Regions from separate parts of the Homo sapiens genome. Here region 1 is linked to region 2. The links are contacts of gene promoters, found by promoter capture Hi-C in blood cells and fetal thymus (Javierre and others, 2016). All regions are on one chromosome and are shown on one strand. Each heading gives the region's core, a stretch centred on a gene start or on the middle of the fragment in contact. The rest is flanking DNA. Distances are from core to core; before and after follow the strand shown.

Region 1 (6,463 bases), core at 845-3,344, 69 kb after region 2:
TGGGCTTGCAGAGCAGCCCCCTTGACCCAAGGCGGTTGGGTGGGCTGGAGGAGGAGTGGGGATGCTAGCTGCGGGTGTAGTAGTAGTTGTAGTCGTCCTCGCACGCATCAAAAGGGCCAGGCGGGCTGCGAGGCTCGCCGTCCTGGCCAGACACAGGACGCTCACGCAGGCGCACCGCATCGTACAGACCTTGCGGTGGCTCATCAAGCAGCACATCGCGCTCGGAACGGGAGCGCGTCAGGAGGCCCACGTTGCGGAGCAGCAGCAAGACGGGAGCATAGAGCAGGTTGGCCAGTCCCATGCCAAGGCTGAGCTGCTCAAAGCCCAGCGAGTGCACAATGTGGCCTGCCACTATGGGCCCGAGCGCGTAGGCCACCGAATAGGAGATGTCGGCGATGGCGTAGACGCTGCCATAGACTGAGACATGGCGCACGTCCACCAGGAAGGCGAGCGTGGGCAGCAGTGCTGTGTCGACTAGGGCTATGCCAAAACAGAGGCCGCATAGTGAGACCACTAGCGGCGCGAAGGAGCGGCAGGCGGGCACGATGCACGAGCTGGCGCCGATCACAGCCAGCCCAAGCGCGCCGTACAGCCACTGCAGGTGTGGGTAGCGCGCCGCCAGGCGCACGGTGAGGTAGACGCCCAGCACATGAGGCACGAAGGCCGGCAGCCAGGCCATGCCCATCTCCCACTCGGAAGCCGCCATCGTATGCTTCATCCACGTGGCAATGGTGGGTTCGAGGAAGGCGAGGGGAATGTTACAGGTGGTGAGCGCGCCGGCCACCACGGCAATGTAGGGGTCTAGCATGAGGCGGTGGATGGGAGTGCCCACTGGCAGGTTGGCCCGAGCCCGTGCAGCCGCCGAGAAGGGTTTGGCCACTGCCAGCAGCAACAGCGCGTCAAAGAGCGACACGGCAGCTAGCACCAAGAAGGGCACGCGCTTGCCGGCGAACTCATAGAGGATGCCCCCGAAGGGCGGGGCCACTAGGCTTCCGAAGCTAATGAAGGCCAGCGCCACGCCCAGTGCACGACTGCGCTCCGGCTCCTCCGGGTACTTATCGGCGATCATGGCTATGCCAGACGTGTCGGCGAAGGCTGAGCCCAGGCCCTGCAGGCTGCGCGCCGCGAACAGCGTGGCGTAGTCCTCGGCGAAGGCGAACAGGACTGTAGAGGCGAACATGACGCCCAGGCCGATCAGCAGCGGCACGTCGTAGCTCATGCGGTCGATGAAGGGCCCGCTCAAGGGGTTCACTAGCAGCTGCAGGATAGCCTTGGAAGCAAACAGCACCCCGATCTTCACGTCTTCGCTCTCCGTAGGGTAGCGGGGCCGAAGGGCTGAGCCCGCTGGCCACGCAGCTGTCGGGGACGCCGAGGTGTTGGCCGTGTAGGCGCTGGCATTGGCCGGAGTGGGCAGCGGCAGGGTGGGCTCCCACACCTCGGGAGTCCGGGTGGGGCCCTCGCCGCCCCCGCGCATGTGGGCGATGTAGTCGGGCACTATGGGCACGATGACCATGTACAGCATGTTGTCCAGTAACAGCGCCACGCACACGATAACAAGCACCAGGCGCCTCTGCCGCCGGGGCTCCTGCAGCGCCGCGCCCACAGCCTCCGACAGCTTGGTGGCCGCCGCCCGGGCCTGGCCCGCAGGTTCCGCGGATTCCATGCCCCCACCCCGATGCTCTTCCGAGGACGCCTCCGCCAGGGCCGAGCGCTGGCGTCCCGCAGTGCAGAGGCGAGGGCACGGGACTTCGGGGAGGCTGTCCTGGCCGAGCAGACTCCCCTGTGCCTCAGGTGGCCGCGGAGCTCATGGCCCAGCGTCCCGGGAAAGGAAAGGACTCCGTCCGGCGAGGCGTTGCAGCTACTCTTAGCCGATCCCGGGACCCGCGGCTGCTGGGCTCAGGGGCGGCCGGGAAGTCGGGCGCGCCGAGGGGCCGGGGCCGGAGACTGGGCGCACTTCGCCCGGGGCGCGCCCAGAGCAGCCCCCGCCGCGCTAAGAGGCCGCCCGCGCTGGCCGAGGGACATGCTGTTGCCGCCCGCCCGCTTGCCCGCCCGTTAGCCCCGCCGCTGCGCTCCCCTCCCCTCGCGTCGGCTCTTGCCTCCTCCGCCGCCTCCTCTTTTTTTTTCCCTTCCACTCGGGGCTGTGACGCGGCGAGTCCCAGCCCCCGAGTGGTGCCCGGGCCACTTACGTCGCTCATGCTAATGCGACGTCGGCGGGGCGGGGGCCGGGGGCGGGGCGTGGCCGGGCAGGGGTCCGCTCTCCAGATGCTCCAGGGCTGGAGGCCCAGGAAGGGCTCTCGGTGTGGAAGTCTTGAACCAGCCCCTGGGATGGGCGTTCCGCGCCGGTAGCTGGCCCTCTGCCCCCCGCCCCCTGCCTGCCCCCCGCCCGCGGTTCTAGGACTCGCGGGGTCAGCGCCCGCTCTTCTCCTCTTGGGGAAGGGGGCGCGGCAGCCGGTTCCTCGAGGCCCCTTGGGAGAGGCGGGAGCCAGAGGCTTGCGATCTCCGCTTCAGCCTGGACCTCGGCGCACAGCGAGCAGGAAGCCCCCGAGGTGAGCCGCCGCTGCGTCCATCTGTTCTCGCAGCTGGATTGTGGAGCCGCGTCCGGAGGAGCGCTGGACACGGACACCCCCAACCCTTTCTCCGACTCCGCCCCCTGGCCCCTTGCACACACACTCCCGCCAGGAGGGGAGGGGAAGGCTCAGCAACTGCCTGGCCTGGCTCTGACCCACCGGCCCCTCCGCAGAATTTCTCGGCCGCGAATCGCGGCCGGGAGCTTGTGGGGACTGAGGGCAGAAGTTGCCGCGCCCCAGTCGGGGTCGCGAATATTAGCCTGGCCGCTGCCGCCCTCCCGCACTGCCTGGCCACATTCCCCTTGCCTGGAATCCCCCTTTCTCCTTTAGCGGTCTGGTCCCCCAGCTCCGCCTCTTCTCTCCCCGCCGCCGCACCCCCTCCCCACTCTAACTCCTCCCAGGCACTCTTCGCACCCGACCAAGCCCTCCCTCGGCTCCTGCCAGCCTCCGCCCCCTGTTCTGCACACTCCCCCATCCCTCATTTTCCAGAGCCTCCTCCAAGCCCCGGGTGGGCTCTGGAGTGACTGTGGCTGGGGTCCTCTCTTGGAACTGTAAGAAACCCTTCTTGGGTGCCGCGCCCACTCCCCGGAGAGCGCCCAGCCGCTTCGCTGTCGTCAGGGGCTCCAGGGAGACTCACCTTCCTTCTGAGAGGGCCGCACCCCTTGAGGCGCCCGTGCTCAGCTGACAGGCTGAGCTGCCCAGGCTGTGCGCTGGGCCTGACGCGTCCCCAGAGCGGCGTTGACCCTGGATGGCACATGGAACCCGTGTTCCAGTGGGCGGACTGGCGGGAGAGAGGCTCCAGGGCGGCTGAGGTTGGAGGTGGGGATTGTGTTGTTGAGATTACGGTTTGCGTCTCTCTTCCAGAGTCAGAGGGGAGCCTTCCCATTTTTCTGGCCTCAAAAGTAAAGCAGCATTAGACGCAGATGCTTCTCCCATTGTGCCCCCCACCCCGCAGGAAGTGCCGCGATGCAGTGCAAAGAGTGTGGTCTTTCGAGGCAGACAACCAGGATGGCTCCCAGCTCTGCCACGTACTCATTAGAGTACCTGCAGGGAATTACTTTGCCTCTCTGTCCCTCAGTTAGTTTCTTTGTAAAATTGAATAATAATAGTACCTACTGCTAAGGGGGCCGGGCACACAGTAAGAGCAGTATAAGGACTTGCTATGTTGTTATCGTGTGTAGAATGTGCGGTTTATCCTCATTTTTCACTTGTGGGTCTTGTGAAGAACAGATGAAAGACACAGGGGGCACTTGGCTAGCTGGCTGATCCCTCTGGCTAGGTGGGCATTGTGACTCCAGGCTCTGTCTGGGTTGGTGGAGGACCCGGAGGGCATTGGAATGTCTCCATCTGTCCCTGAGATGGCTGTAGGATGAGGGGATGGGGACCAATGTGTCAGGGTGAGAGGCGGCAGCCTGGCCACCTGTTGCTCAATTCCTTCACCCACCCAGTCACCCTGGGAAAGGAGAAACTCATCCACTGAAGGGCTGCTGCCACCTGCTCTGCAGTGACTGAAGTGCCCTCTGTCTGAGGGAGGAAAAGAGTCCCAATGTGGGCACAGGCCTGGCCCTGGATGACCTTGGGCAAGTCACAGCCCCTCAGTGGGGCCCAGCCTCAGCCTCCGTCTGGTTCAGGTTGAGGTGAGAGCCCACTCACTGCAGCCCTTAGCAGAAGTGCGTGCTGCAGAAGACTCTTTGGAGTGGGCTAATTATTTTAAATTGTATTTGATGGCCTTTCGTCAGTACATGCACACTCTCCAGCACATCCCAATCTCGCCCCAGCTGACTTCACACACTTATGCCACTTGCTGGTTCTCCAGTCATTTCCGTTTGAGACCTCTGGGCTCTTCTGACTCTCCCATTATGAGGCTCTTAAAGGGGCAGTCTCCCAGCCTACAAAACAATTATTATTTATGCACATGCTATTTCCCCTGTCTGATTAAAGAAAGGAGGAAGGAGGACTTGAAGGACAATTTTTTTTTATGTCTAGTGGCTGAAGAACAGAGGAATCATAGAGGACAGGAACTTTCCCAGGGCCTTCAAGGTGCAGACCACATCTCCAGCCCTCTGGCCCACATGGCTGTTCCTGAGCATGAAGCCAGGTATCTCTGGGCTCATGACTAGCTCTCCAGTCCTCGGTTCCTGTATGGCAGGAGGCACACTCATTTATTACTTGCTTTGTGCCAGGAGTATTGTGTGTGCTGTTTTACTCCATTCTCCTGCAATCCTGGTGCAGTGTAGGTGCTATTCCCCTGGTCTTATCAGGTGAGGAAGCTGGGCGTGGAGATGCTGGGTGCTTGCCCAAGCTCCCAGCAGCAGATCCTGGAATTAAACCCAGGCTGGGGGACCTGTCTTGTGGTCCTCACACTGCTTCCCTATTCCCGGCACGGCGTCGTGCTCCTGCTGCTCCATCTCCAAGGTGGCCGCACGCTGGCAGTGTAGGGGTGAGGAGCAGATCAAGACCCATGGGAGGAGGAAGGTCCTGGGCTGGCTCCCTAAGGAGGCTCCAAAGACACTAAACTCCCTCATTCTCTAACTTTCAGATCAGAGGGCAACGCCCCCCCAATCCATCGTGGCTCCAAATACGGGAGTGCCGGGGTTGCAAGGAGGCGTCAGGCCCCTGCAGCAAAAGGCTACGGGAGGGTCTGAGCCGAGATGGGACCTGGCAAAGCCTCTTCTCCCCGCCAGCCGCCGGGAGCTGTCCAGGGTGCTGGCCCCGGCCCCACCGCAACCAAGAAGCCTCCCACGGAGGCCCCGCCCCTCTGGCTTCCTCTTCACTTGAACGCTTGGTAAATTCCTTTCCGGACTCCTCTATCTGAGCATAACTTGCAGGCAACAGAGAACTTCCTGTCCAATCCTGTAGGAGAAAACGGAAGCATTTTTCTCTCCTTTCTCAACCAGAAATAGCAGCTGTTAGGGCAGCGTTCATATCTGGTACTCAATTAAAGTTGAATGAGTAGAGGAAGGAAGGAACGTATTTACTAGACACATAGTAGAGCTTATAAGGCATCAGGCACCGTTCTAAGCATTTGATAAGCACTAACTCATTGAATTCTCTCACCAACCTTCATATTACTTTCTTATAGGCAAAGACACTTAGGTAAAGTAATGTATTCAGTCAGAGAGCTCACAAGTGGTAAAGATGGGATTCCCATGCAGGTGATTTAGTTCCAGCTTCCTGCTCCCAGCCACCATGTGGCCCTGCTGCAGGATGGCTAAAGACTGCGAGATAGCTCACTTGAACATGTCTAGCCCAATGCTTGATACCTAGTAGGAGTTTAATTGTTATTATTTTATATGGATAGAGACAAATTGGTGATTTCTAGCTGACAACACTTCTTCTCATTTTATCCACAAGATACAACTGTGTCCACAGTCTGATGGACTAAAATTTCTTCCTTGCTGGATCAGTGCCCTGTCAGGGGAGGGGGGCTTGCTGGGGATGGGGGAGTCCTGGTGTGTGGGAGTTTGGGAGGGGTGGAAGGATAGCCATGCTGCACCAGTGCCTGGGTGAGGTCTAGGGGGTGTTTGGAGGTCTTGGGTGGGTTGTGGTGGTGGGGTGCTGCTGTGGATGGAGGTGCCAGCCCAGCCTGGCCTCATTTCTGAGAAGGTTGTGGGGCCATGTCATTTCCAGGGCTTTGCCATTTGTTGCTTCCCTGAAACATCTGGTTCCAGAGAGGTGAAACCACTGTATTTCTGTGGAGAAGCAGGCTGGTGTTGGTGATGGCAGTGTGTGGGTGGGGCACCTGCTCCTGATTTATTATTTCTTTGTCTCTCTGGAAGCACTTAAGCACAGGCTTCGTTCCAATCGAGCTCATGAGCCTCTCTGGATTCCAGCACTGGGGGCTAGGGGTGCAGTTTGCTCAGGGCTCCATAACCCATCCCCTGTGCACCGGCTCA
Region 2 (6,623 bases), core at 3,119-5,618:
ATACAAAAATTAACTCAAAATGGATCAAAGATCTAAATTTAGGAATTATAAAACTCTTAGAAGAAAACATGGGGGCAAATCTGCATAATCTTGGATTTGACAATGGTTTCTTTCTTTTTTTTAGACAGAGTCTTTTGCTCTGTCACCCAGTCTGGAATGCAGTGGCACAATCTTGATTCACTGCAACCTCGGCCTCCAGGGCTCAAGCGATCCTTCCACCTCAGCCTCCTGAGTAGCTGGGACTACAGGTGCGTGCCATCACACCCACCTAATTTTTGTGTTTTCTATAGAGATGGCTGGTTTCTACAAAAAGGGCTGGTTTTGAACTTCAAACCAGGCTGGTCTTGAACTCCTGGGTTCAAGTGATCCACCTGCCTCAGCCTCCCAAAGTGCAGGCATTACAGGTATGAGCCACCATGCCCAGCAGACAATGGTTTCTTAAACAGCATATCACAGGCAAAATAAGAAAAAAACAGATAAATTGGACTTCATTAAAATTAAAAATTTTGTGCATCAAAGGACACTACCAAGAAAGTGAAAAGATAATTTACAGAGTGGGAGAAAATATTTGCAAATCATTTATCTATTAAGGGTCTCATATTCAGAATATCTAAAGAAATTTTCCAACTCAGTAACAAAAAAAAGTGCAACCCAATTTAAAAAATGGGCAAAGGACTTGAACAGACATTTCTCCATAGACATACAAATGGCCAATAAGCACATGAAAAGATGTTCAACATCACCAATCATTAGGGAAATTTAAGTGAAAACCACAAGCTACCATTTCACACCTACTGCGATGGCTGTAATTAAAACCAAAGAAAATTGAAATCCTTGTGCATTGCTAGTGGGAATGTAAAATGGTGCAGCTGCTTTGGAAAACAGTTTGGTCATTCCTCAAAAAGTTAAATATAGAATTACCATATGACTCAGCAATTTCAGTCCCTTAAAACAAAGGGATTCAAACAGATATTTGTTTACCAGTGTTCATAACAGCACTATTCACAGTAGCGGAAAGGTGGAAACAACCCAAGTGTCTATCAACAGATAAACAGATAAACAAAATATGGCATATCTGCCACAAAAAGGAATAAAGTAGTATAATACATGCTGTAGCATGGATAAACCTTGAAATATTATGCTAAGTGAAATAAGCTACAAAGTAGATTGCAGGTTACCAGGGGCTGGGGGTGGAGGTGAGAGGTGAAGCCAGCTGGGCTTCTGGGTCGGGTGGGGACTTGGAGAACTTTTCTGTCTAGCTAGTGGATTGTAAATGCACCAATCAGCACTCTGTGTCTAGCTAGAGGATTGTAAATGCACCAATCAGCACTCTGTAAAATGAGCCAATCAGCACTCTGTAAAATGGACCAATCAGCAGGACATGGGCGGGACCAACTAAGGGAATAAAAGCTGGCCACCTGCGCCAGCAGCAGCAACTGGCTCCTGTCCCCCTGCGCCAGCAGCAGCAACTGGCTCCTGTCCCCCTCCACGCTTTGGGAGATTTGTTCTTTCACTCTTCATAATAAATCTTGCTGCTGCTCACTTTGGGTCTGCACCACCTTTAAGAGCTGTAACACTCACTGCAAGGGTCTGCAACTTCATTCCTGAAGTCAGCGAGACCACGAGCCCACCAGGAGGAACAAACAACTCTGGATGCACCACCTTTAAGAGCTGTAACACTCACCGCGAGGTCCCTGGCTTCATTCTTGAAGTCAGCGAGACCATGAACCCACCAGAAGGAATAAATTCTGGACACAGAGGGATAGGGTGTTGTTGCTTAAGGAATACAGTTTCTGTCTGGGGTGTTGAAAAATTTTAAAAAGAGAGAATAGTGATGGTTCCACAACATTGTAAAGATAATTAATGTCACTGAATTGTATGCTTAACATGGTTAAAATGGCAACATTTTAAATATATGTTTTACCCACGTTATTTTTAGAGACAGTGAACATAAACTAAAGGTAGATTATGAGGTGAGGGTGGGTAGGTGTGGCTCATCAGAGGGGGAGGAAGAGAAAAGTCACTTATTTAGGCTGTCTTCTTAGCCAAAACTACAAAACATTTTAAACATCACCATGCAACACTGCTAGGAATTGAATTGTTGCCCCCCTTCCCCCAACTTCATATATGGAAGCCCTAACTCCCAATGTGACTACAGGTGCTTAAAGAGGTAATTAAGGTTAAATGAGGTTATAAGGATGAGGACCCAATCTGATAGGATTAGTGTCTTTCTTCTTATAAGAAGAGACACCAGTGAGCTTGCTCCCCGCTCTCCCCATATAATCCCACCAGGTGAGGACAAAAGAGAAGGTGGCTGTCAGCAAGCCAGGAAGAGCGCCCAGAGCCCTCACCAGAAGCTGACCTTGCCAGACCTTGATCAGGGACTTTTAGCCTTTAGACTGAAAAAATATATTTCTATTGTTTAAGTCCCATAGTCTATGGTATTTTGTTTTGGCAATCCCAATAGACAAATACAAACATGGAGGTATTTGCAACAGAAATTTCTCTATCAACTGTTCTCTCACAGAAAGTAACTTCCTCTGCTGATTGAAATCCTACCCATCCTTCAAACTCAAACTCAAATGCCATCTCTTCCAGGAGGCTTTCCCTGATTGCTCAGCTAAAACTAATTTTTGTGTCCTTAGGCTTCAGGGTATTTTGCCTGGAAGACTCTTAGTTTGGGTCATAGGATGGGAGTTCATCAATGGTCATTCCTGGGCTCTCATCTCATTCTATATGTTCTCTCCAAGTCAATGACTCACATCTTTCTATCTCCATTTCAGACTTTTTCTCTGAACTCCAGAACAACAGAGCTGATTCAGCACCTCTGTCTAGGTAGCCGAAAGCACATGAAGCTTAATTCAGATGCTCCTTGACTTATGATGGGGCTAGGTCCCAATGAGCCCACTGTAAGTGGAAAGTGGGCTTAATACCTGGATAAGCCCATCATAAAGTGGAAAAATCGTTAAGTGGAACCATTGTAGGTTCAGATGTGCCTCAACTTAGGATAGGGTTACCTCCCAATAAACCCATGCTAAAGTCAAGAAGTCTAAGTTGGGGACTATCTGTATGACCAAAATAGACTGTTCCTTTGGAACGATTCCACATATTCCTCCAAATTTTGGTCCATCTTTGGTGTCTTTGATTTTAGTGGACAGTACATCCATCCATCAGCACTGTTTCAAGTCAGACACTGATTAGATCCGGATAACATTCTTTTTACCCTTACCTCCCACCTCCATCCTCTCAGGAAGTACCATTGCTTTCACTTTGATCCATGGTCTCCTTTATGGTCCAAGCTACTCTCATCTCAGCCCTGGACCACCCCAACAGACTTGTCTTCCTTGTTTCCACTCTTGCCCCCTCTAATCTGTTCTCCTCAGAGCAGCAACAGCTTCATCCCCTGCCTAAAACTTATCTGCGGCACTGCAGGATCTGGCCTGATTACCTCTCCAGCCTCATCCCCCATCAGTTTAACAAATATTAATACATCATTTATTGAATGCCTCCAGCCATTGCCTATATTATTAGTCCCTCTGCCTGGAAGGCATTCCTCTCTTTACCTGGTTAGTTTCTACTCATTCTTTAAAGGTCTACTTAAATGTGGGCTCATTTAAGGCTCCACTTAAATGAGCCTTTCCAGACCTCTCCCTCTCCCCTCCCATTATGGCTAGTCACAGGTCCCACTGTGGTTAGCTCCCATGGCACCACCTAGCCTCAGTCAGAGCTTAGGCACAGCTGTCATTTAGCAGTTAACAAGGAGATTACTTCAAGGACATTCATCACTGTTTAACAGTGTGTCCTCAGTCCCTGGAAGGGTGTCCAACACACACTGCGTGCTTAATAAAAGTCTGCTGCATGAACGATTAAGAGATGGAATACCAGCAACGCTACTTCCCAGCCATTTGAGTTGTGAAAGTCACTTAATATTCTTGATCCTCAGTTTCCCAATTCTTAAAGCAGGGTTATGTAATTTTTTCTATGGAGGTAATTTCTGTAATTTGCTGGGCACTGGGTGGGCCCACAGCTCACTCTTGGATAGAAGAGCCTTCCCACTCTTTTAGCCCAGCCCTGGAAGCCATAGGTTGCAACATCATCCTGGGGAAGACTTCCTGGAGAGGTGGCGCTTCGTGGGGGTCTGAGGAAGGCCTAGGCACAGGGCACCACCTGCACGGATGCTCAGAGGCTGGGGCCCTCAGGGGCGCACGCGGCGAGGAGGCCCACCTTGCAGGCCCTGCAGGCGGAAGGTGTGGTGCTCCACCGGTAGGCCTGCCGCGCTGTAGGGCCCATAGCGCAGGATGACCACTGCGTTCTTGGGCATCGCCAGGCCTCCGCCGCCGCAGAGGCAAGGGAGAAACACACGCTGCTAAGCAACCTCTCTTCCGGCCCGGGCGCGTGGGCGTCGCTACGCGCCGGGCGGGGCCGGGGTGGCGCTAGGGGATCCTCCCGGCCCCAAGCTGCTCACGTGACCCTCAGCGCCTGGTCCGCAAATACGCGCGTTTGAGCTGGTGTGGCAAGTGTTAGTGATAAATAACAGCAGCAGCCAGGCACAGTAAGTTCGTGTCAGGCGGCGTGCGAAGCATTTTCCCTGCGTTATCTGGTTGAATCAGTTTACCATCCCTAGGAAGTATTTTATGTTTTTTGTTTACAAAACCGAGGCTCTGGGAGGGCAAGTTGCGGTCCCAAGAGTGACAGGGGTGTAGTATGGATTGGAAACCCTTGCATTTCTTCTATTTTCTTGCCTCTTTTTGATTGATTGGGAGTATTCGTTCATCATTCTTCTTCCCCCACCTTCTTCCCCCGGCCCCTTCTGTCACCAGTTAGGCTATTTGGTGGAGCCAAAACTGAATTCGTCCAATTCCCTTTTATTTGCTCAGTTCTGCTCATTGGAATTTGGACATAAAAGACATCCACCACTTCTAGGCATGGCTCCTAAAAAGTCTCCTCCACACCTGCTGTCTCCCTCTTCTTATCGGTAGCCAGATACGGGATCCCAGGGAGGACCCGAGGCTCCCGGGGAGACAGACCCAAAACGTGGGAGGAACCTGGACCACTGAGTAGCTGCGCCGAATAGAGCCCCACCCATCTGCATTAGTTGGTGACCGAAGCCAGAAGGAAACATTTATTCCATAACCACTGAGATTTTGGGGGTTGTTTATTACAGAAATTAGCCCAACCTAACAATCGCAATACCCTTGCGATTACAGCATTTCTTTACTTTCTAAATATTCAATTGTAGTTGATATTTTTACCCTCCTTTTGAACAGTAAAGGATTTTAAAAACCCTTTCCCACTAATTCTCCCAACGTATGCTACTGTGTATTTTAATTCTCTCCACGTGTACAGTATGTTCTATGATACATATTTCTTTGATGAGAATTAGTTTATACACGATTGTTAAATAGAGGAATGATATCAGCAGAATTTTGACATTATTATGGGTCATACATAATTTCCCCCAGCACTTGAGTTTCGCACCATCGGACAAGAACCACTGAATTCACCAACACAGCTGAACCCAGCAGACTATGGAGGAAGGCAGGACTGTACATGATGTCATTATTCATCCTCTTGGCTCTATGTGGTTACCTGTCTTGTCTTAGAAGGACTTATTTTCTGGTTCTCTATAAACTTTGTACACGTCTTTAAAGGCAAAAATCCTCTACTCACTGTAGTGTTTTTATTAATTAGAAATTTAACGTTGTTTTAACTTTGCTAAAAGTTTTGTATGAATAGTTGTTTTCCGTTACTCTTCTGTTTTCAAGACCGCTTATGTTTCTTTATCTCTTGCTTTCTGTAGTTTTACTGTAACAGTAAAGGATTTAAAAAACCCTTTCCCACTAATTCTCTCAACGTATGCTACTGTATATTTTACCTCTCTTGGGATTTGTTGAGATTCTTGAAACTGAATTAAAGTCCTTCATCAGTTTTTGGAAAAGTTTGAGTCATTATTTCTTCACATATTGCTTTTGTTCCATTTTCTCATTCTCAGGGACTCCAGCTAGGTATATGTTAGACCTTCTCATTGTAATCTGCATGTGTCTTCTCTGTGCTTTTCTCTTTTTTCTTCTTCCATACTTCTTTTGGGGTTGTATGTATACACGTTTGTATGCATGCATTCATTCATTTTTACCTGTAATCCAGTCTACGAATTTTCTTTTTGGCTCTTAACTGAGAAGAAAAGCCAGGAATTTGATTGTTTATTCCAGTTATATATTTTTCAATTCTAGAATTTTAGTTTGTTCTCTTTTCAAATCTGCTGTGCCACTTTCAGTTTCTTCCCAAGTGTTTTAGGTTTGGCTTTATCTCCTTCATTGTAGTAAAGATAGGTATTTTATAGACTGTGTTTGAGAATTCCATTGTTTGGAGAACCCATGTGTTTGTCCTGCGGTTTATTATTTCCGCTGGTTTCTACGCATTTTATCTTGTCTCCTAGAGTTCTGGTTTATTTTAATTGTGTGCTGGACATTGTATTAAAAAAGTATTTGTAGAAACAATTTGAGGCCTAAGATAGTATCTTCCCCTATAGAAGATTTTAAAATTTACTTCTTGTTAACTCCTACTTGTACCAACCCAGGATCATCTTCATACAGTTTCAGAGTTTGAGATTTTTCTGAGCCATC

What was found. Contacts are between HindIII fragments. The CHiCAGO score rates a contact against its expected background, and 5 or more counts as called.
Region 1: a contact is called between the fragment with the promoter of SLC18A3 here and the fragment with the promoter of C10orf53 in region 2, in 3 of 17 cell types (fetal thymus, total CD4 T cells and megakaryocytes). The highest score is 6.1, in fetal thymus.

What each region holds. Positions count from the first base shown.
Region 1 is chr10:49,605,941-49,612,403 of GRCh38, reverse strand. SLC18A3 (solute carrier family 18 member A3) reads right to left here and starts at 2,094. Exons shown (of 1, transcript NM_003055.3): 1 at 1-2,094. The coding sequence starts at 1,663. The coding sequence ends at 65. It also overlaps a transcript of CHAT not described here. RefSeq lists enhancers at 1-225, 226-1,122, 2,167-2,961, 2,962-3,757 and a silencer at 5,127-5,421. The HindIII fragment of the contact is 17,270 bases long and covers 1-6,463 here.
Region 2 is chr10:49,677,396-49,684,018 of GRCh38, reverse strand. It overlaps C10orf53 (chromosome 10 open reading frame 53), which reads right to left and starts at 4,368. Exons shown (of 3, transcript NM_001042427.3): 1 at 4,225-4,368. The coding sequence starts at 4,321. The HindIII fragment of the contact is 5,886 bases long and covers 2,858-6,623 here.